Linked DNA regions of Homo sapiens: regions 2, 3, 4, 5 and 6 are each linked to region 1. The links are contacts of gene promoters, found by promoter capture Hi-C in human tissues and cell types (Jung and others, 2019). All regions are on one chromosome and are shown on one strand. The core of a region is centred on a gene start or on the middle of the fragment in contact, and the rest is flanking DNA. Distances in the headings are between cores, read along the strand shown. Region 1 holds the start of GATA6 (GATA binding protein 6). Region 2 has its middle 250 kb from the start of RBBP8. Region 3 has its middle 240 kb from the start of CTAGE1. Region 4 holds the start of LOC124904265 (a long non-coding RNA gene). Region 5 has its middle 85 kb from the start of CTAGE1. Region 6 overlaps LOC105372016 (a long non-coding RNA gene).

Region 1 (3,255 bases), core at 229-2,728:
GGGTTAACAAGAGCGTAGGCTGCACGCTACCTCGCCTCCACTCCTTTTTCTAGTTCAAATGGGATCTGACTTCTCAAAGATCCCATTTGAGACTTCTCAAAGATCCTATTTCTGCCCCGGGCGTGGAGATCAATAAGGGAGGGGAAGGGAGCCTGCGCAGCCGCCACAGGGCCCTGGAAGGGCTGGGATACCAGCCCTCCCTCAAAGGCACCGCTCCGGTCCCCGCGTCCTCCCCGCCCACCCCCTCGGCCGCATCCTTTCTCCGTGCGCGCGCCAGATCCCAGGGGTGATCTGCAGAAGCTGGCTGAGGCTTTCCTTCCGCCCTAAAGTGTCTCCCCCGGGCTGATGACACACAAAAGAATTTAAGTAGCTGTGCGTGTCGGCACCGCCGCATCCCGCCTCTCTGCGGATGCCCCTCTCCCGAAATGCCTCGGGGTGAGGGTTCCCCACGGGAAAACCCTTCGCGTAAGGAAGGCAACCTGTCCCCGAAAACGAAACCGCCGCGTTCTCCTATATTGGCTCTCCCAGAGCTTCCCGGACTGCGCTGACCAGCCCGAACGCGAGCCCCAGAGAGAAATGCAACTCGGCCCAGGGAAAGTGGGACGCCAGGGCGGGGGCAGCAGTCTGGGTCCTTCCCAGCAGAGGCAATGCGGAGAGCTTGTGGGGCGGGAATCGCCAGCCCCACCGGCGTCCCCGCGGCGCCGCACACCTTAGACACGGCCCGCGCCTGCAGCCACCAGCGTGCGCGCTCACGCCGGCCGGGCCACCCGGCCCACCCCGCGGTCATCTCCAGCAGCAGAAACGCCGGACCGTTCCGGAATCGGACGTAGCGGGGTGGAGCGGAGAGCAGAGAAAAGGAGGGGGAACGCAACGGGCTGGGGAGGGGGGAGCGTGAGACCGCCCCAGAGCCGAGGCGACCCCAAATGGGAGAGCAGGAAGAATGACAGGGAGACTCGGAGCGAGTGGGGGAGGGAGGTGAAATGCAGCCGGGCTGGCCTCCTCCAGGCTGCTCTTCCAAATCGCCTCGGCTCATCGGAGATTACCACACTAAAATTAATGCCCACACACAGACCTGGCTAGATAGCAAGAAAGAAGTTTCTCTGCCTGCCTAACTACCGGCTCCCGCCCCTTTGCGCCGAGATAACTCGGAGATAAGGCTGCGCGCAGATAAGCGCTTCGAGGAGAGAAAAAGAGACTAGAAGTTGGTCCGCGGTGTCCCGGGAGCCTGGGAGCCGCCTCAGCCCGCCCGGAGGGAAGGAGGGAAACACCGTCGGAGCCGACCGCGGCCTGGAGAGGGCCGGAGAGCCGGAGGCCAGGGGCCCGCGACGAGTAGGGGTGGAGGGGAGGAAAGCGGGGAGATCGCGCGAGGAGGAAGCAGCCGAACCTCGGGCGGGCGCTGCGCATGGAGAACGGCCGCGGCGGAGGGTGCTCCCAGGCGCGGAGAGAAGCCGAGGGCGCCAGCGGGCGAGCGCGAGTCCGGGGTCTGCGCCGCGCTGCTGGTGAATAAAAAGGAGAGAGGAGGCGCCTCTTACTGCTCTGCCGGAAAACTGCAGCCTGGGCTCCTGATTGGACTCACCGAGCCCTAAACAAACAGCGCTCGCCGAAGGGTGCCAGGCTGTGGGTCGGAACTGCGCTCAGCGAGCAGCTGGGCGCTGGAGGTGAAGAGGAGGAGGAGGGATCGAGGGGAGGAGAGAAAAGAGGGTGGGGAGGGGACGGCGAGGGGGGAGGGGAGCGCGCCGCCCAGGCAGACAATGAGAGCCGCGCTGCCTGCGGGCGTGGGCTGAGCCGCAAGCCCTGTCCCCGGAGTGGGGGCGAGTCCACCCGGGGGGCACCGAGCCCAGGGACCCCGGGGGAGGGGCGGAGGCCACAGAACGCCTGACCTGGCTAGCGACCCGCACCCATCCAGCGGCGGTGCACCCTCCCGCTCCCGCAGTCGCACACACACACCCACACGAGGGAGGGGGAGGGAGCCTTGGCACGGGAGGAGTTGGCAGTGCACAGTCCCGCGCCGCCGCCGCGGCGGGAGGGGCGCTCCAGACCTTGGGTCAGCACGCCCCCAGAAGGAAGGGGGAACGTGCTCTGCGCCCCCCCGCCCCCCAACCCCCGCCTAGCCCCTTCACAGCAAATGCGCTTTTTGCCCTGAAGTTGTGTGAGACCGACCTTAAACTTTCTCCGACCCTATCTCGGGATGCTACGGCTCAGGTCGTGGTGGTTTCGGGAACCTCAAGACAACATTCCCCAGCTGACCTTTGGGAACTTTAACTCGGGTCGTCATGTACGGAAAGGTAGTCTATGGGGTACGCAGAATGGAAAAGGGCTTCCACATCAGTCGTGTCCGAGGACGCTCTCCAACTTTTGATGTCCCTGGAGAGTTTCTGATATTTCCCTGGAGAGTTTCAGGTAAGTCACAGATAAGTCACTGCGAAGAGGGGGTGTCACCTTCCCTGGACCCAGCGCTAAATGCTGCTTCCCCACCCCCACGTTCATATACACACCCCCTCTTCGCTCCCTCCAAACAGTTATCACAACTCTGTACAAACTGATACGGTCCCTAGCGGGCAAAAGGGACTGGAAATGAACGTCGCGGGGTTATCAGCGCCGATCTGTCAGCGGCAACTCGCGCGGCCGCAGGCTCGTCCGCTGCAGGAGCCGTGATATATGTCTCGCTCCCTTTCGCTTACAGAAAGGATTTCTTCCGACAGACGTGACCCCAGAAGGCTGCCGAGGGAGACTTTAGGACAAGAGGCGTTGTTTTTGTGAGAATGAATTTTTATACTTTACCCCGACCCCACCCCCTACCCCCCGCCCAGGTAAATCCAAGTAAATGATTTTCTGAAGGTCGGTCTCCTAGAAAGCGTTTAGGCTCTGGTTTTTTGTTTTGTTTCTATTTTCGTGTTTTCCCAGTTAGGGAAGGAAGAGGAGCCTGTGCAGAGTTGAACTGGGGTGGAGAGGTGCCTTGTAAAGTATGGTTTCCAGAGATGGTGAGACCTCGTAGCTAAGCGTTGTTTCCTCTGCACGTAACTGTGAGTTGTGAACTTGTGGCTCCTGGGGGAGCGGGACAGGGCCTGGCAGTGCGGGGGAGGGGGCAAGGAATTCAGGAAGTTGGCGAGAATTCTTCGTTTTTCATTCTTCGTTGTAAATTGCTTCTAAACACTTCTGAATTTTAAATTGCTACCGAGAAGGTCCAGAAACCGTTCTCATCCAATTTAGTCACTTTTATTACGTTCCACTTTGCCTCCCCCAATCACTGCGGCG
Region 2 (3,255 bases), core at 192-2,691, 510 kb before region 1:
CTGATTTACCATCTGTCCAATTTTATGATCCTTCTAGGCAAGGAGTCCCATGGCCATGGTGGCATTGTATAACTCTTTTGCATTCTCTGAACCATGGCATCCAGGATTCTCCCTGTTTTTTGAGCCTTTCAGAAAAATATAAAGTGAAGGAGCATGAGGAAAGAAGAAAATTCAAAATTCCCCCTTAAGAGTTAGGGCTTTGGTTCTGAAATCATGGCTGAGTTTTCTTCCTAAAATCTGTGACCTAACGACCATTCCTAGAGGGTAAATTGATGGGCAAAAATGGATCCTAGGTAATCTCACTATCTTCAAAACATGCATCTATTTACCAAGGTACCAAAACCCTGTCCAATTCGTAGGTAGCAGTCTGAGGCTTTTATGCTGAAAATTCTATACCAGTCATTGGGAATCACTTATGAACTATCTTTGGCCTAAACAGCACCATAGGATTGAAAAATTGCATTGTAGCATTTTAGCACTACTCATCAAGAATGATACAGTGCCAGGCAATGAAATTTGGAATACTGAGAGAGTTGGTAGCTCTAAAGCAAAAGTGAAGTAGCGTGTCTTACCTGCGTCATCAGTGAAAGTGGTTCAGCCTCCAAGAATATTGCATCTCTTTCCTAGTTCTCTTCCAAGTTCTATTTATTTGAAAGTTCATTTACAAAAGCTCCAGGCTTCAGGTCATAGAAGTGCTATTTAGGATGATGTTGAGGAAAGGCTGCTCATACCTATTAATCATAATACTGGGGGTACTGCATGAGTTCCCTGGGATATTTGGCTTGTCGGTTTGTGATAGCATGGAATCTAGAATCAGAGATGATAATCCTAGATGCATGGGCTGACCAGTTACTGATTCATAAGGGGAGAGTTGATAACCCCCAGGAGGAATTGATCTCACTGTCATTAAAGCCAATGGCAATATCTTAGGTGATGAAAGATTGAGAATCTATGAAAAATTTGCTAATTTGTGTTTTAAAATTCGATCTGCCCTTTCTTCCTTTCTTGATGATTGGGGCTGATATTGATAGTAGAGTTTCTGAGTAAGTGAGAATACTCTGCAAAGCTTTTAAATAATAGTCACAGTGTATAAGTTTTCTTGCTGCACAAGTCACCAGAAACCTAGTGACTTAAAAGCACCTGCATTTATTCTTGCTGTTTCCATGGGTCAGTAGCCTAAGCATGGCTTGCGTTGTCCTATGCTCAGGGTTTCTTAAGGCTGAAATGAAGGTGTTGTCCCAGTTGCATTCTCATGTAAGGGCTCTATTAAGGGAGAACCTGTTTCTTAGCTCACACCATTTATTGGAAGAATTCATTTCCTTGTGGTTGTAAGACTGAAGGCTCCAGCTTCTTGCTAGCTGTTGGCTGGAGGCCACCCTTGGCTGCTATTAGTTGCCTGCAGATCCTAGATGCAGCCTCAGTTCCTTACCTCAGGGGCTTTCCTGAAATGAGTGCTTCATGAAGCCAGGAAAGAGTCTTCAGAGTGTCTTCTAGCAAGACAAGTAATTTATAAAACTAACATAAGCACGGGAGCAATAGCCCATCACCTTTGGCATACTGTGTTAGTTAGAAGCAAGTCACAGGTCCTGACTGCAGTCAAGGATCACACAGAGGCATAAAGACCAACAAATGTGGATCCTGGGTGGCCAAATTGGAGTCTGTCCAATATACCAAGGAAGATGAATGGTCTTGTTACTAGAGCAATAGTTTGGAATTCCCTAAGTTGGTAATACAATATCAAGTAAGTTTTTAAATTTGCAATTATTAGAGCCATGTTTCTCCAGCAAGGAAAGGGCTCAACTCATCCCAAGAATAAGCAAATAATAAGTAGGACACATTACAAATCCACTGCAAGAGCAGATATATGAAACCCTTTTGGAGCTATTCAAAGGGATTCTAAGCACTGGGCTCTTGTCCATGTCTGACCTGAACAGTTTTGTCAGAATCAGTCTAGTGGCAGGTAATATATGCACCAGAAATACCCTCAGAAGTTTTAGTGAAGTTTTCTCACCAAGAAGTTTAGTGGCCAGTTTGTCCTTGCTAATTTGTCTTTGCAGTGGTGGGTATTTTCATGTAAAATTTTTGCAAGATTCCATTTGAAGTTCTTCGGGACTAAACAGCCATCCTTAAAGCCTCGGAGATTATCCTCGTGCAGTTTACATCTGGATTTCTCCTAGTACGACTTTTCTGAACCTGGAGCCGATCACTGACATTCTATAAAAGCCTCTTTGAATTTCTCTAGCAATAGAATCTATTGGATTATCATTAGGGCTAGGATCTAAGTGAGTGCTGACTGTCTGGAACAAAGAGCTGTAGTATACCCATTTGTTTGAGCTCCTGTCTTTATATCTCCTTAAGAAACATTAGAACATGCAAAAATTCTTTAATTCTGCTGACCAATCTGAACTGGAGTTCCTGTTGGGGTCAAGAACCCTTGTTTACAAAACATCACCAAATATGACTACCTTCCAAAATGTATATCTCTATTATCAGTGGAAATTATCCTTTCATTTCTAGTTAACTGATAGGCTCTGGCACATGCAGTAAGTTCTTCAATCTGGACAGATTTTGCTTTTGGTAAGGGGTGATATTCTTACCTTCTATTTTGCAGTATCACTATTAAGATGTGATCCATCAGCAACTAGGATTAAGTCTGGATTTCCTAAAGCATTTTCTAATAAATCCACTCAGGGCATAGAGAGTTTGTGAACAGAGATTAAACAATCATGAGTTTCTTCTGTTTTGGGTAATTAATGAAAAGTAACAGGATTTTAAAGTACTATGATGATAAATGGAAATATATTAAGGAGAAAATAAGGATTCACACAACACAAGTCTTCCTGCTGAGAAGTGTTGTGTATTTCCAGTGAACAGCAAAGACTGTAGGGGATGAGGGCCCATTAAATTTAAAGGAGATCCTAAGACCAAGCTGGAAGATGCCTTCACTTGTGTAGCTGCTGTGGCTGTTGACAAGGCGGGTAGGCTCTTGTTAGACTACCAAGGGCTTGTTCAGATCTCTCAGGTACAAATGAGTAGAAAGAGTGGGAGGTTGTTGGAGTGCTGATAATTCACAAAAGATCTATTCATGTTCAGTGTCCCAGGGAAGAGGTTTGGTATTTGAGAACTTTGTCATATAGTGGAGTGGCAAATAGAAAAGCTGAGAACCCATTGCATTTGGGGCAAGGACTGGAGAATCTTCTTAATTGTCTCTGGCCCAGTAAAGTTTTGAGTGGCCTGTAGTTGGTTAAGAGTAAG
Region 3 (3,255 bases), core at 291-2,790, 490 kb before region 1:
ATTTGTTTGAGTTCACTGTAGATTCTGGATATTAGCCCTTTGTCAGATGAGTAGGTTGTGAAAATTTTCTCCCATGTTGTAGGTTGCCTGTTCTCTCTGATGGTAGTTTCTTTTGCTGTGCAGAAGCTCTTGAGTTTAATTAGATCCCATTTGTCAATTTTGGCTTTTGTTGCCATTGCTTTTGGTGTTTTAGACATGAAGTCCTTGCCCATACCTATGTCCTGAATGGTAATGCCTAGGTTTTCTTCTAGGGTTTTTATGGTTTTAGGTCTAACGTTTAAGTCTTTAATCCATCTTGAATTAATTTTTGTATAAGGTGTAAGGAAGGGATCCAGTTTCAGCTTTCTACACATGGCTAGCCAGTTTTCCCAGCACCATTTATTAAATAGGAAATCCTTTCCCCATTGCTTGTTTTCCTCAGGTTTGTCAAAGATCAGATAGTTGTAGATATGCGGCGTTATTTCTGAGGGCTCTGTTCTGTTCCATTGATCTATATCTCTGTTTTGGTACCAGTACCATGCTGTTTTGGTTACTGTAGCCTTGTAGTATAGTTTGAAGTCAGGTAGCATGATGCCTCCAGCTTTGTTCTTTTGGCTTAAGATTGACTTGGCGATGCGGGCTCTTTTTTAGTTCCATATGAATTTTAAAGTAGTTTTCTCCAATTCTGTGAAGAAAATCATCGGTAGCTTGATGGGGATGGCATTGAATCTATAAATTACCTTGGGCAGTATGGCCGTTTTCACGATATTGATTCTTCCTACCCATGAGCATGGAATGTTCTTCCATTTGTTTGTATCCTCTTTTATTTCATTGAGCAGTGGTTTGTAGTTCTCCTTGAAGAGGTCCTTCACGTCCCTTGTAAGTTGGATTCCTAGGTATTTTATTCTCTTTGAAGCAATTGTGAATGGGAGTTCACTCATGATTTGGCTCTCTGTCTGTTATTGGTGTATAGGAATGCTTGTGATTTTTGCACATTGATTTTGTATCCTGAGACTTTGCTGAAGTTGTTTATCAGCTTAAGGAGATTTTGGGCTGAGACAATGCGGTTTTCTAAATATACAATCATGTCATCTGCAAACAGGGACAATTTGACTTCCTCTTTTCCTAATTGAATACCCTTTATTTCCTTCTCCTGCCTAATTGCCCTGGCCAGAACTTCCAACGCTATGTTGAATAGGAGTGGTGAGAGAGAGCATCCCTGTCTTGTTGCCAGTTTTCAAAGGGAATGCTTCCAGTTTTTTCCCATTCAGTATGATGTTGGCTGTGGGTTTGTCATAGATAGCTCTTATTATTTTGAGATACGTCCCATTAATACCTAATTTATTGAGAGTTTTTAGCATGAAGGGTTGTAGTTTGCTAGTATTTTGTTGAGGACTTTTGTGTGTGTTCATCAGGAATATTGGCCTGTAATTTTCTTTTTTGTGTGTCCTTGCTTGATTTTGGTGTCAGGGTGATACCAGTTTTATAGAACGAGATGGGAAAGAATCCCTCCTCCTTCATTTTTTGAAATAGTTTCTGTAAGATTGATATTAGTTTGTACACCTGGTAAAATTCAGCTGTGAATTTGTCTGGTCTTGGACTTTTTTGGGAGTGTATTTTAAATTACTGATTTAATTTTATGACTTATTATTGGTTTGTTCACAATTTCTATTTATTCCTGGATCAATTTTGGGAGTTGCATGTTTCCAGGAATTTATCCATTTCCTCTAGGTTTTCTAGTTTGTGCACAGAGGTGCTCATAGTACTCTCTGATGATCTTTATTATTTCTGTGATTATATTCTAGTATCACCTTTATCATTTCTGATTGTGTTTTTTGGATCATTTCTCTTTTTTTCTTGGTGACTCCTAGGTAGCAATCTATCAATTTAGCTTATCCTTTTGAAGAAAAATATTTTTGTTTCATTGATCTTTTATATCTATTTGGTCTCAATCTCATTTAGTTCTGCTCTGATCTTTGTTATTTATTTTTTTCTGCTAGCTTTGAGTTTGGTTTGTTCTTGTTTTTCTAGCTCTATGAAGTGGGATATTAGGTTGTTAATTTGTGATCTTTCTATCTTTTTGTAGGCATTTAACACTATAAGCTTTCCTCTGAGCACTACTTTTGTTGTATCCCAAATGTTTTGATATGTTGTGTCCCTATTTTTATCCAGTTCAAAAAATTTATTGATTTCTCTCTTAATTTTATTATTTACTCAAAGATTGTTCAGGAGCAAGTTATTTAGTTTCCATGTATTTACATAATTTTGAGATTTCCCCTTGGTGTTGATTTTTAATTTTATTTCACTGTGGTCTGAGAAGATATTTGATATAATTTTAATTTTTTTGAATGTATTGAGACTTGCTTTATGGCCAAGCACATGGTTTATTTGGAGAATGTTTCATGTGTGAATAAGAAAAATGCATATTCTACATTTGTTGGGTAGAGTGTTCAGTAAATGTCTATGAGGCCTATTTGCTCCAGAGTCCAGTTTATACCCTGTTTCTTTTTTCTAAATTTTTACTTTTTAAGCTATCTCCTACTGGAAGAAACTCCCAGAGTTTCTTTGTTGAATTTCTGCCTTTATGATCTGTCTCATACTGTTGATGGGGTGTTGAAGTCCCTTACTATTATTGTGTTGCTATCTATCTATTTTCTTAGGTCTAATAGTATTTGTTTTATGAATCTGGCTGCTCCGATATTGGGTGCATATACATTTAGGGTAGTTAAATGGTTTTGCTGAATTGAACCCTTTATCATCATATAATGACCTTCTTTGTTTTTTTCCACCGTTGTTGATTTAAAGTCTATTTTATCTGATATAAGTATCTGATACTTATGTCAAAACTCCTGCTTGTTTTTGTTTTCAGTTTGTGTGATCACAAACTGAAACCACCTTTACTTTGAGTCTGTGGGCATCTTTACCTATTAGATGATACTCTTGTAGGCGACTAATTGTTGGGTCTTGTTTTTTAAATCCATTTTGCCAGTCTATATCTTTTAAGTGGAGCATTTAGGCCATTTACTTTCAAGTTAATATTGATAAGTTTTCCTCCAGTCATAATGTTGATAGCTAGTTGCTTTGTAATCTCAATTGTGTAATTGCTTAATAGGATCTGTGAGCTTTGTACTTAAGTTTGCTTTTATGTTGGTGCATATTGCCCTTTTTTTTCCATGTTTAGAATGCCTTTGAGCATTTCTTGTAGGACCAGTCTAGTTGTGATGAATTCCCTTAATGTTTGCTTGCCTGGAAAGACGTTATTTTTCTTCCACTTAT
Region 4 (3,255 bases), core at 540-3,039, 360 kb before region 1:
GTAGCAAGAGGGAAACAATGGTCACATTTCTAAGGGGTGAATAATGAGGAAAACTAAAGTTTAGGTTTCTGAACCTTTGAATGAAACCTAGGCATTGCTCTTAGAAAAAGAATGAGATGAAGAAGCGAGAAAATATTCCATGTGCAATCAAAATACCTTGTGTTACTCTTTCCTGCTTCAACTGCAAGGGCGTGGTGTGCAGTAATTGTCTCGAAGGCCACATGTCAATGGGGGACCAGCGTGCTCAGGCAGTGTCTTCCCATAGACTGTCCTCGTGATGTCACCCCTCCCGGCATCCCCAGTGCTCACCTGGTCACCAACATGGTCTGGATTACTTGTCTTGGTCAGCCACTGTGCTGAGTGCAAGAAGGAACCCTCTCCTACCAGCAATCGATTCTTTTTTTAATTTTTATTTTTTAAGATGGAGTCTCGCTCTGTCGCCCAGGCTGGAGTGCAGTGGCAAGATCTCGGCTCACTGCAACCTCTGTCTCCAGGGTTCAAGTGGTTCTCCTTCCTTAGCCTCCCGAGTGGCTGGGATTACAGGCATGAGCAGCCATGCCTGGCTAATTTTTGTATTTTTTAGTAGAAATGGGATTTCGCCATATTGGCCAGACTAGTCTCGAACTCCTGACCTCACGTGATCCGCCCACCTCGGCGTCCCAAAATGCTGAGATTACAGGCGTGAGCCACCGTGCCTGGCCTGATTCTTTTACAGAGATCTTCCCAGTCTGTTTCTCACAAAGTCTCCAGGTGAGCACTCTGTGAACTCACGAGTTCAGATATCACAGTCTTCCTCTTCAGAGAGACTTGGCCCAAGCTGCCAAAGGGGTTGACTGAGAAGGCAGCTCGAGTGTGGCCCCACATGTAGTACCCACCAGCACCCCTTACTGCAAATGTCCCATTCAGTTTTCTCCCATCAGAAGAAGTGCCTCTCCTGAGTGCTGCCCCTGAAGCCTGGAGCTTCAGGGGTGGCCCTCACCTCAGAGTCTAGGTCCTGCTACAGGGCTTGACTCATGTTCCCCCATTGTCTTTTTGTTCACGCTCTTCAGGGCTTTATGAAAAGCAGAAATTCCAGCAGCCTCTCCCTGCAGGTCTTAAGTTCAGATGCGAATCCCGACACTGACAGTTGCTAGCTGCAAGATTTGGGAAAAGTCACTTTAAAACAAATAAACAACTTGTAAAGTCTTGATTTCTTTGTCTGTTCTGTGAGGATGCAGACAACTATCTGAAAATTCACTTGAATGGAAAACTTTGACTCATTTTTTTCCAGTGGCCCCTTACAGGACAAAGAGATAAAGAACAAGTTAGACTCACTTGGGAGGTTTCTTTTATAAATGAACTTTTAGAACCCACCTGTCCCATTTGTACAGATTCAGCCTGGTTTCAGGTGCCTCCAGCTCTTAGAGTTGTGGAGAGTTTGAGGTTGATGGAAATGCTTTCACAGAGGATTTTTGTAATCTTCACATAATCCTGAGAAGTAGGTAGGTTTGCGTCTTATTCTCACTCTTCAGAGGAGGAAACAGATTTAGAGAATTTTGAATTTTTTTTAAAAAGCAATTTGCCTAGAATCTCCCAGCTACTAAGTAGAGCCAATCCTGAAACCCACGTCTTCTGGCTCTAATCCTCAGTCCTTCTCCCAGGGTCCACAGCACTGAGGTCACCGATGACCCAAATGATAATCTAAATAATGACTCTGAGGCTGGACAAGATGCCAGATCTTCAAAGAGAGAGTCTATTTGATCATTCCATTGCACCAGCAAAGTGGGTTTGAAATCTGTAGAGAGATTTCTTTTTCCCCAATAATAGCAGATGAAACAATACTGGTTAAAGAACATTCCATTTCCTAAGCATTCCCATTTTAAGTCTATGTCCCAGTCATTAACATGGCCATACATAGATTCACCATTTGAAGGAAGAAATATGTAGAAAAGCTGTCACAGAAACTTAAAACAGCCTATAGCAGGAAATGAGGAAAAAACACCATATATTGTAATCCTGTTTCTGTCTCCAAGGAGCAAACTCAAAAACAGACACCTATGGCTTTAAGAGAAACAGTTATACTGGGAGAGTGTTACACGTGCGAAGGAAGAGAATGTTTTTCATGCCTTGGTTCAGGGGATTCCCGACAGCCTGGGTCTGCTTCCAACAGCCCCCAGCATTCCATGTGTGTGCTATCTGGTATGTGTTTATTATTGGGTATGAACAATTTAGGGAGGAAAGCACTGGTTCCCTCCAGGGGACCTTTGTACCTTACAACGGCACCACCCCTTCACCTCTGGTGGGGGGAAGGTCATCCAGGCATTCACGGCCTTCCCGCCTCTACCCTTATTCTTCCTTAATCCCCACTTCTTCCTCTCTGGCATCTCCATTTGTTCCTAAATATTTTTCTGTTTTCCCTGCTTCTGAAGAAAAGCTTGGACAAAGGGACCCTAAGGAAGACACACTGAAACTTTTCCTAAATCAGGCACCATCACTGTGGGCTCTCTTCTTTTCCCTTAGAGCTAAGACATGGATTGTGAGATAGACATGGTCTAACTCCTCCTCGGTCTGGTGAACTCTAACGGTATAAAATCAGTCCAGATAGTGAACAGGTGGTTTGGCTCCTCTAAGGAGCTTCAGTTTGGTAGCATTTCACCTGGGCTTCTCAAGCTTGCATATTACCTAGAGCACTACACCTGAGAACTAGAGGCCCTGGGAGGTTCGTCTATTTTTTTTTTTTTTTGGATAGGACTCTTGCTATATTGCCTAAGCTGGTTTCGAACTCCTGGCCTCAAGCTATCCTCCTGCCTCAGCCTCCTTAGGAGCTGAGATTACAGGCAGAAGTTCATCTTACCTCATCTCTCAGTGTGGTCCAGATCTGTGGGGTGGTTTTCCTTAGTCATGCTTATTACTGTGTTATCTTAAAGATCAGGAGTCATACCTTACTTGCCAAATCCAATTTCCTCCGCCCATTTTTCATCTTCCTTGGTATCTTGTGGTAGGTGACCCTGTTGGGAAGACCCTATCCTGGTTCTCCCCCTTCCTCTCAGTGTGATGCTTCAATCTCCTTGGCAGTTCCTCTTCTTTCCTACCTCTGACTATGGATGCGACCCTAAATTTTGCTCTTGATCTTCTTGCCTTCTCTCCCCTCACATTATCCTTTGGTAAATTTACCAACCACTGCTTTATATATCACCTTCATATGAATGATTCCTGAATCTTTATCTCAAGTCCCATGGTTTTCCATGACAACAATATCCAAGTCCGTATGATTCC
Region 5 (3,255 bases), core at 312-2,811, 330 kb before region 1:
TACTGTGTGCTAGGCAATGTCATTAGGTCCATCTCCCAACTCAGCCTCTCCTGAGAATTGACTACTTGTGATAGCTGAGGGCTCAGAAATCAAAGAGCTAAGCATGCTGTACACAAGGCTGGTGTGAACATCTCTGAGTGAGGACTGGCAAGGCCTGCCCTGCCTTGGAAAGTACTTGGCTGTGTGACTGCCCTTTACACTGCTCTGAGCACTGTCCCCAGACTGCTGGGTTCTCACTTGTCATATCCAACTTACCATAAGACCCTGGAGACATGTGAAGCCTTGCTCTCTGCACAGATGGTGGGGCCATACCAGGAGTGCTCTTGAATAAAACAGGACAAGGACCTACCCTGCAGCATTGCCCTAAGAAGACTTGCAAGCAGAAGATGGTGGGAACTGAACTGTCAACCAAAGAGCTGTGGAATCCACTCCTGGGACTGAGCAGACATTTTCCCAGGCTGACTTACACACTATAGCCACTCATCACAACAGAGAGGGATGGCCCACCCAATACCCTGGCCTGGGTCCCCTGTGAGTTCACGCTGTCTTCCGCCTTTGCAGGGAGATTGTAGCACACATCTCTCCAAGGTTACATCATCTCCTGAAGGCAAGGGCCTCTAGTGAGTTTTTGCTGGCTAAGTCCTCAGGGCAGGACTTGGTGTCCTTGATATAAAACATCTGTCTTGGGAGGCACAGTTGGGAAAGAATGAAGGATTTTTCTGGGAGCTCAACTGGCTCACTGAGCAAAGGCCAGGAGACATTTGGTGAAGTAGCGGAAGGCTGTAATATATAAACAAGATGTGAGTGTGCTTTTCAGGAGTGATGCATATCTATGGAAAGAAACCACAGGCCTCCTTTCTCTTCAGGCATGGGAAGAGAAAAGGACCTTTGTAATCTATGTGTGTTTATTTGTTTGACTCAATGGATAAACAGATATCAATATATTGCTATCTATCTATCTATCTATCTATCTATCTATCTATCTATCTATCTGTCTGTCTTGCCCTGGGGTATAAATGAGTATCTATAAATATCAACTTTTTCCCTGTAAAGTTTGCTGTTTGTACAGCATTCACTCTTTGTATAGATAGCTTCCTCCCATCAAACGCCTCAATGCCCTAAAATCAGTTGGGATGTTTTTCCAAAACTGCTGATAGGCTATCTGTATTTCTAAGGAGATGAAGGAGTTATATAATAGACCTTATTCTCTAACAGAAAAAGGAAGAAGCATGGGAATATTCCAACTAACCTGACTGAGGAGCTTGATAGAAACTTAAGGAAACAAGTCAGAGGATAAGAGCTCAGACTGTAAGAGGAAATGTTACTAAAGAATTTAAATGGCAATTCTGTCCTGGCCTCATTAGCTTTTTAAGATACACGATGTTGGGGCTTACCAGCTGGAGAGGACAATAGAGGAACAATATGAGGAAACAGGTGAAAAGGTTCTTCCTACCTCCCTGGACCTCCTGAGATCAGAAAGAAGGAAACAATCTGAAGATGCAGTGGATTTTCTCCCTTAAGCTTCTTTCTTCGTTCTCTTTTGATATTAATCCAGGACAATGGGTAGAGAAAGAATCTTCGAAACGTTAACTATAAGGCAGGCATGGATACTTAGGATTTTGAAAAATATATATGTTGCCGGTATGTGCACAAAAATGTGTGTGTGTTGCCTGCGGGGTTGCGGAGGTGTGGTTAGTCAAGTTGTCCAGGACAACCAGATCACATCATAATCATCTTTTGAGACTTGGCTTAATGGAAATCCCTTCTTCTTCTCTAAGGCCTTTGCCAACTCCTCTTCCTGACACCCACACAAGATGAAATCTATCTCTTTGTGTATGCACGTCATATATTTGCACAACTTTTATCCCACCTAGAACTCTGACTCTTCCTATAATTGTGGCCAAGGATTGTGTCTCAGTCTTTTTGTAACTAAGCATCCAACATAGTCCCTGATACATAATAATCAAATTGAATAAATTAATACGTGTATATAACTTACTTTCTCCATTTATGTATTCATATGCAAACAAAAAATATTTCATATGTTAGAGATGTAAGGCTACATAACCTCTCTGTGAGGCACATTTGTTGCTTTGAAAATCAATGGAGTCCAAACTTTAAGTCAATGTTTCTCAAGAAGATATTGTGATTCAGTTAGTCTGGGATGGGTATTGTGCTTTTATTTGTACATGCTCCAGATGACTTAAATGTGCTGCTAGGATTATAACTACTGATTTAAGAAGAGAAAGATTTTTTGGGGAGACTTAAATTAATTGATCCCCCCCTCTTTTTAGTGATTTTTATGTCCCCAAAAAATCTGCTGACAAAACTCATAAAGATTATTCTCTTGGTTTATTTTTTTTCCCAGAAGTTTGATAGGTTGAATTTACATCTAGATCTATGATCTATTTCAAATTAATTTTTGTGTTTGGTGTGAGATAGGGGTCCAGGATCATTTACATACAATGATGTAATACAATCAGATGCATTCATTTTAAGTATGCAATTCAATAAGTTTTGACAAATTTATGTACCCATGTCACCACCACAATCTAGATATATAACATTTAGATCACCCCTGAAAGTCTTCCTGTTTCACCTTACAGTCAACTCTTTCACCTCTGACTGTGGGCAGTAGTTGATCTGAGGCCTTTGCCAACCCATCTTCCTGACACCCACACCAGGCCTCCTTTTCTGTCACTATGAGTTAGTTTAGCCTTTCTAGATGGAATCATACGCTATGTAGTTTTTGTCTAGCTTCTTCACTTGGTATATTTTTTTAGATTCATCCATAGTGTGCCATCTATCAACAATTTGTTTCTTTTCATTGCTAAGTAGTATTCCATTGTATGGATATAGCACAATTTGTTTATCCATTCATCTCTTATTGGTTTTGGGGGTCGTTTCCAATTTATAGCTATTATGAGTTAGTTGCTATGAATACTCATGTGCAAGTCTTTGTATAAACAGATATTTTTCTTTCTCTTGGGTAAGTACATTTGATTAGATTGTTAAGTCCCATGGTAAGTATATGTTTAACTTTTTAAGTAGTGGTCAAGCTGTTTTCAAAATAGTAATGACATTTTACATTTTGACCAGCAATTTAGCAGCCCTCCTTGTCAACACTTGGAGTTGTCTGGTTTTTTTTTTGTTTGTTCTTAATTTTAGTCATTCTAGTGGGTGTATAGTGGTATGTTATCATCATTTTAATTTGCATATCTCTGATGATTTATCATATTGGGCAACTGATCGTTT
Region 6 (3,255 bases), core at 494-2,993, 270 kb after region 1:
AGGCCTCAGGAAACTTACAATCATGGCGGAAGGTGAACGGGAAGCAAGCACGTCTTATCATGGCAGAGCATGGGAGAGAGTGCACGAAAAAGGAAGTGCCACACACTTTTAAGCAACCAGATCTCGTGAGAACTCACTCATACCCCGAGAACAGCAAGGGAGAAACCCACCCCCATGATCCAATCACCTTCCACCAGGTCCCTCCCCCAACACTGGAATTACAATTCAACATGAGATTTGGGTGGGGACAGAGCCAAACCATATCACCTGGAGAAAGTGGACAGTTGTGACCCAAGAAGGCTGTCTCTTCTCAGGTCCCAGTTGAGCGCTTGCTTTTGTGACATGAATGTCCCCTAACCTTTTTTACTGGCACAGTGACTCATGGCAAAAGCAATGCACTTTGTCCCAAGCAGAGACTGCAGCAGTAGGGAATATCAGGAAACCTTGGGATCTGCCCGCCTGCAGGTGGTGAGGTCCTATTAGTGGGTGGACAACGCGTCCTTGTTTGCCATGGGTGTGAGATCATTGCTCTGCTGTCTGCTGGCACTCCCCTGGAGCTGCCTCAGGCTGGTGGGTGAGTTAGGTCTCTAAGGATGTTCCATACAGGGACTGGCCCTAAAGTTAATGCAGCTTAGGCTGCAGGACCCTCATTTGCACAGGCCCTCCAAGGCTTGGGAAGGGTCCAGCAGTGTTTTCACATTTGCATGATTACATTGTTTTTTCTTTTTCTTTTCTTTTTTGAGACAGGGTCTTACTCTGTCAACCACACTGGAGTGCAGTGGCACAATCTCAGCTCACTGCAGCCTCAACCTCCTGGGCTTGAGCAGTCCTCCTGCCTCATCCTCCCAAGTAGCTGGAACTATAGGCACACACCACAATGCCTGGCTAATTATTTTATATATAGAGAGAGAGATGGGGTCTCACTGTATTGCCCAGGCTGGTCTCAAACTCCTGGGCTCAAGGGATCCTCCTGACTCGGCTGTATTCCCAAAGTGCTGGGAATACAGGTGTGAGCCACCACACCCAGCCAAAAATAATATATTTAACTGCTATCAGTTATGACTATTTTCTGTTTCTACTCTCACTTTCCTTTCTCCACTCTTTCCCTGTGCCAGGTGGGATGGACCAGCCATGGGCATATCTGAAGGTACATTGAGGCAGATGAGAATGCATTGAGGGTACATTTATTTGGGGTTTTGTTGGATACATTTATGTGGCTTACAATTACTTCTGTGAATTCTTCACTTATTACTTATTACTAAGCTATCTTAGGAGCACCCTCATCTCACTCCCTGCCTAGTGTTATGACGGGAAGAACCAGGGCTATCCCTATACACTGTGTCCTATGGCATCTGGCATGAGAAGTACATAGATTGTGGAGGAAAAAGGTTTGAAATGAATCAAGCCAGAAGGTGGTCTGTGAAAAATTCTTCCAACTGTCAGACATGGAAAATGGTAAGCCAAAGGTTCCATTAACAACTACTAGTCAATGGCGGAGTATGGTGACTCATACCTGTAATCCCAGCACTTTGGGAGGCCGAGGCAGGTGGATGGCTTGAGCCCAGGAGTTTAAGACCACACTGGGCAGTTTAGTGAGACCTCATCTCTATTTAAAAAATAAATTAAAAGAAAAAAACTAATCAAAATGGAATTTGTCTCCTGTGAAGAATATGTTAGCCGGGTGCGGTGGCTCACGCCTGTAATCCCAGCACTTTGGGAGGACAAGGCGGGCAGATCATGAGGTCAGGAGATCAAGACCATCCTGGCTAACATGGTGAAACCCCATCTCTACTAAAAATACAAAAAATTAGCCGGGCGTGGTGGCAGGTGCCTGTAGTCCCAGCTATTCTGGAGGCTGAGGCAGGAGAATGGCGTGAACCCAGGAAGCGGAGCTTGCAGTGAGCTGAGATCGTGCCACTGCACTCCGGCCTGGGTGACAGAGCAAGACTCCATCTCAAAAAAAAAAAAAAAAAAAAAAAAAAAAACGAATATACCTGATAATACAGCACATACAATTATGAACAAACTTTGCTTTTTTTCTTTTTGGAGGGGATCACACAAAATACAATTTTCAGAATTTCTCTATAGGTATGGGATAAAACTGCAGAAGCACTACAAACAGCAAGTTATAGTCATGTGTGAAATCCTATGTGTTATGCATCCCAACCATCAATAATAATTACCAAGCAACCACGCTAATAGGAACAGCTGAATTACATTTCTATTTTCTCTACTAAAAATGATTGTAGAAAATTGCAGACACATTGAAAGACAATCAAAGAGTATAAAGCTAAAGATATGGGGGAAAGAAGCATTAGATACGTTAGGGGGCTCAGTAATAAAAATGTGCATTTTTTCTGGATTTGGAGACATTTGTAGTCTTTTTTCTAATTGTGATCAGTTGTGATTTATTTTCTCATTCTAAATAAAAATTTATTTTCACATATACATTTGTATTTGTCATTTTCTGTTATCTTCCTAAAGATGACACCCAAATTATATACGCTCTGGGCCTCACAAAACCTTGATCCACCTCCTGAATGTCCATATTAGCTTATAGAACTGATAATCATCCTTGCCAGGACCATGGAAAACACTGATTTTTGTTTCTCTGGTAGACAGGCAGTATGTTATGATGCTTAGGGGCCAGGAACTCTGGGACCAGAATGCCAGAGTTCAAATGCCACGTAAAGCATGACCCACAGTTTCTATCATTTATAAGACACTTAGAAAGTGCCGCTTCATAACACTTCGTAAATATTCACTATATTATTATTAGACTTAGACATGTCTTCTCTTGTTCTAAACCCTTATCCAGTTACAATAATTGCAAGATACAGAATTTTGAGAAATCATTTGTGATTATATTTTATGTACAGCAATTTTTAAATGAAACACTACTCTAAACTAAAAGTAAAGAATGAATTAGGGCTGGGCACGGTGGTTCACACCTGTAATCCCAGCACTTTGAAAGGAGGTGGTGGCAGGAGAATCGCTTGAGCCCAGGAGTTTGAGGCTGCAGTGAGCCATAATCATGCCACTGCATGCCCTCCTGGGCAAAAAAGCAAGACCCCAACCCTAAGGGAAAAAAAAAAAGAATGAATTGGAGCTCTCTGTCCCTTTGTTTCCCACCACATGGTAGCATGAGGATGGAGTGCAAGCGCTGGATGAATTCAGCTTGAGTAAAGCCAGGTGATGGAGAGGAGAACGTGTAAAGGTCAGAGGTCCATTCACCAATGCAATGATCCTCACTGC

What was found. Contacts are between HindIII fragments. The study calls those that stand out against the background at their distance.
Region 2: a fragment that was not itself captured here is called in contact with the fragment with the promoter of GATA6 in region 1 in 1 of the 25 tissues and cell types used here (lymphoblastoid cells).
Region 3: a fragment that was not itself captured here is called in contact with the fragment with the promoter of GATA6 in region 1 in 3 of the 25 tissues and cell types used here (H1 embryonic stem cells, heart left ventricle and lymphoblastoid cells).
Region 4: a contact is called between a fragment that was not itself captured here and the fragment with the promoter of GATA6 in region 1, in 2 of the 25 tissues and cell types used here (aorta and mesenchymal stem cells).
Region 5: a fragment that was not itself captured here is called in contact with the fragment with the promoter of GATA6 in region 1 in 3 of the 25 tissues and cell types used here (IMR-90 fibroblasts, aorta and small bowel).
Region 6: a contact is called between a fragment that was not itself captured here and the fragment with the promoter of GATA6 in region 1, in 1 of the 25 tissues and cell types used here (heart left ventricle).

Annotation. Positions count from the first base shown.
Region 1 is chr18:22,167,812-22,171,066 of GRCh38, reverse strand. It overlaps GATA6 (GATA binding protein 6), which reads right to left and starts at 1,478. Exons shown (of 7, transcript NM_005257.6): 1 at 1,385-1,478. It overlaps GATA6-AS1 (GATA6 antisense RNA 1 (head to head)), which reads left to right and starts at 2,099. Exons shown (of 2, transcript NR_102763.1): 1 at 2,099-2,400; 2 at 2,684-3,255. RefSeq lists an enhancer at 1-108. The HindIII fragment of the contact is 12,336 bases long and covers 1-3,255 here.
Region 2 is chr18:22,676,749-22,680,003 of GRCh38, reverse strand. No RefSeq gene overlaps it. Among named protein-coding and RNA genes, the nearest start is that of RBBP8, 250 kb to the left of the region's middle. The HindIII fragment of the contact is 3,901 bases long and covers 1-3,255 here.
Region 3 is chr18:22,658,374-22,661,628 of GRCh38, reverse strand. No RefSeq gene overlaps it. Among named protein-coding and RNA genes, the nearest start is that of CTAGE1, 240 kb to the right of the region's middle. The HindIII fragment of the contact is 8,147 bases long and covers 1-3,255 here.
Region 4 is chr18:22,523,892-22,527,146 of GRCh38, reverse strand. It overlaps LOC124904265 (a long non-coding RNA gene), which reads right to left and starts at 187. Exons shown (of 3, transcript XR_007066310.1): 1 at 157-187. The HindIII fragment of the contact is 5,421 bases long and covers 1-3,255 here.
Region 5 is chr18:22,501,392-22,504,646 of GRCh38, reverse strand. No RefSeq gene overlaps it. Among named protein-coding and RNA genes, the nearest start is that of CTAGE1, 85 kb to the right of the region's middle. The HindIII fragment of the contact is 8,094 bases long and covers 1-3,255 here.
Region 6 is chr18:21,897,989-21,901,243 of GRCh38, reverse strand. All of the region lies in intron 1 of LOC105372016 (a long non-coding RNA gene), which reads right to left. Among named protein-coding and RNA genes, the nearest start is that of MIR133A1HG, 68 kb to the right of the region's middle. The HindIII fragment of the contact is 4,850 bases long and covers 1-3,255 here.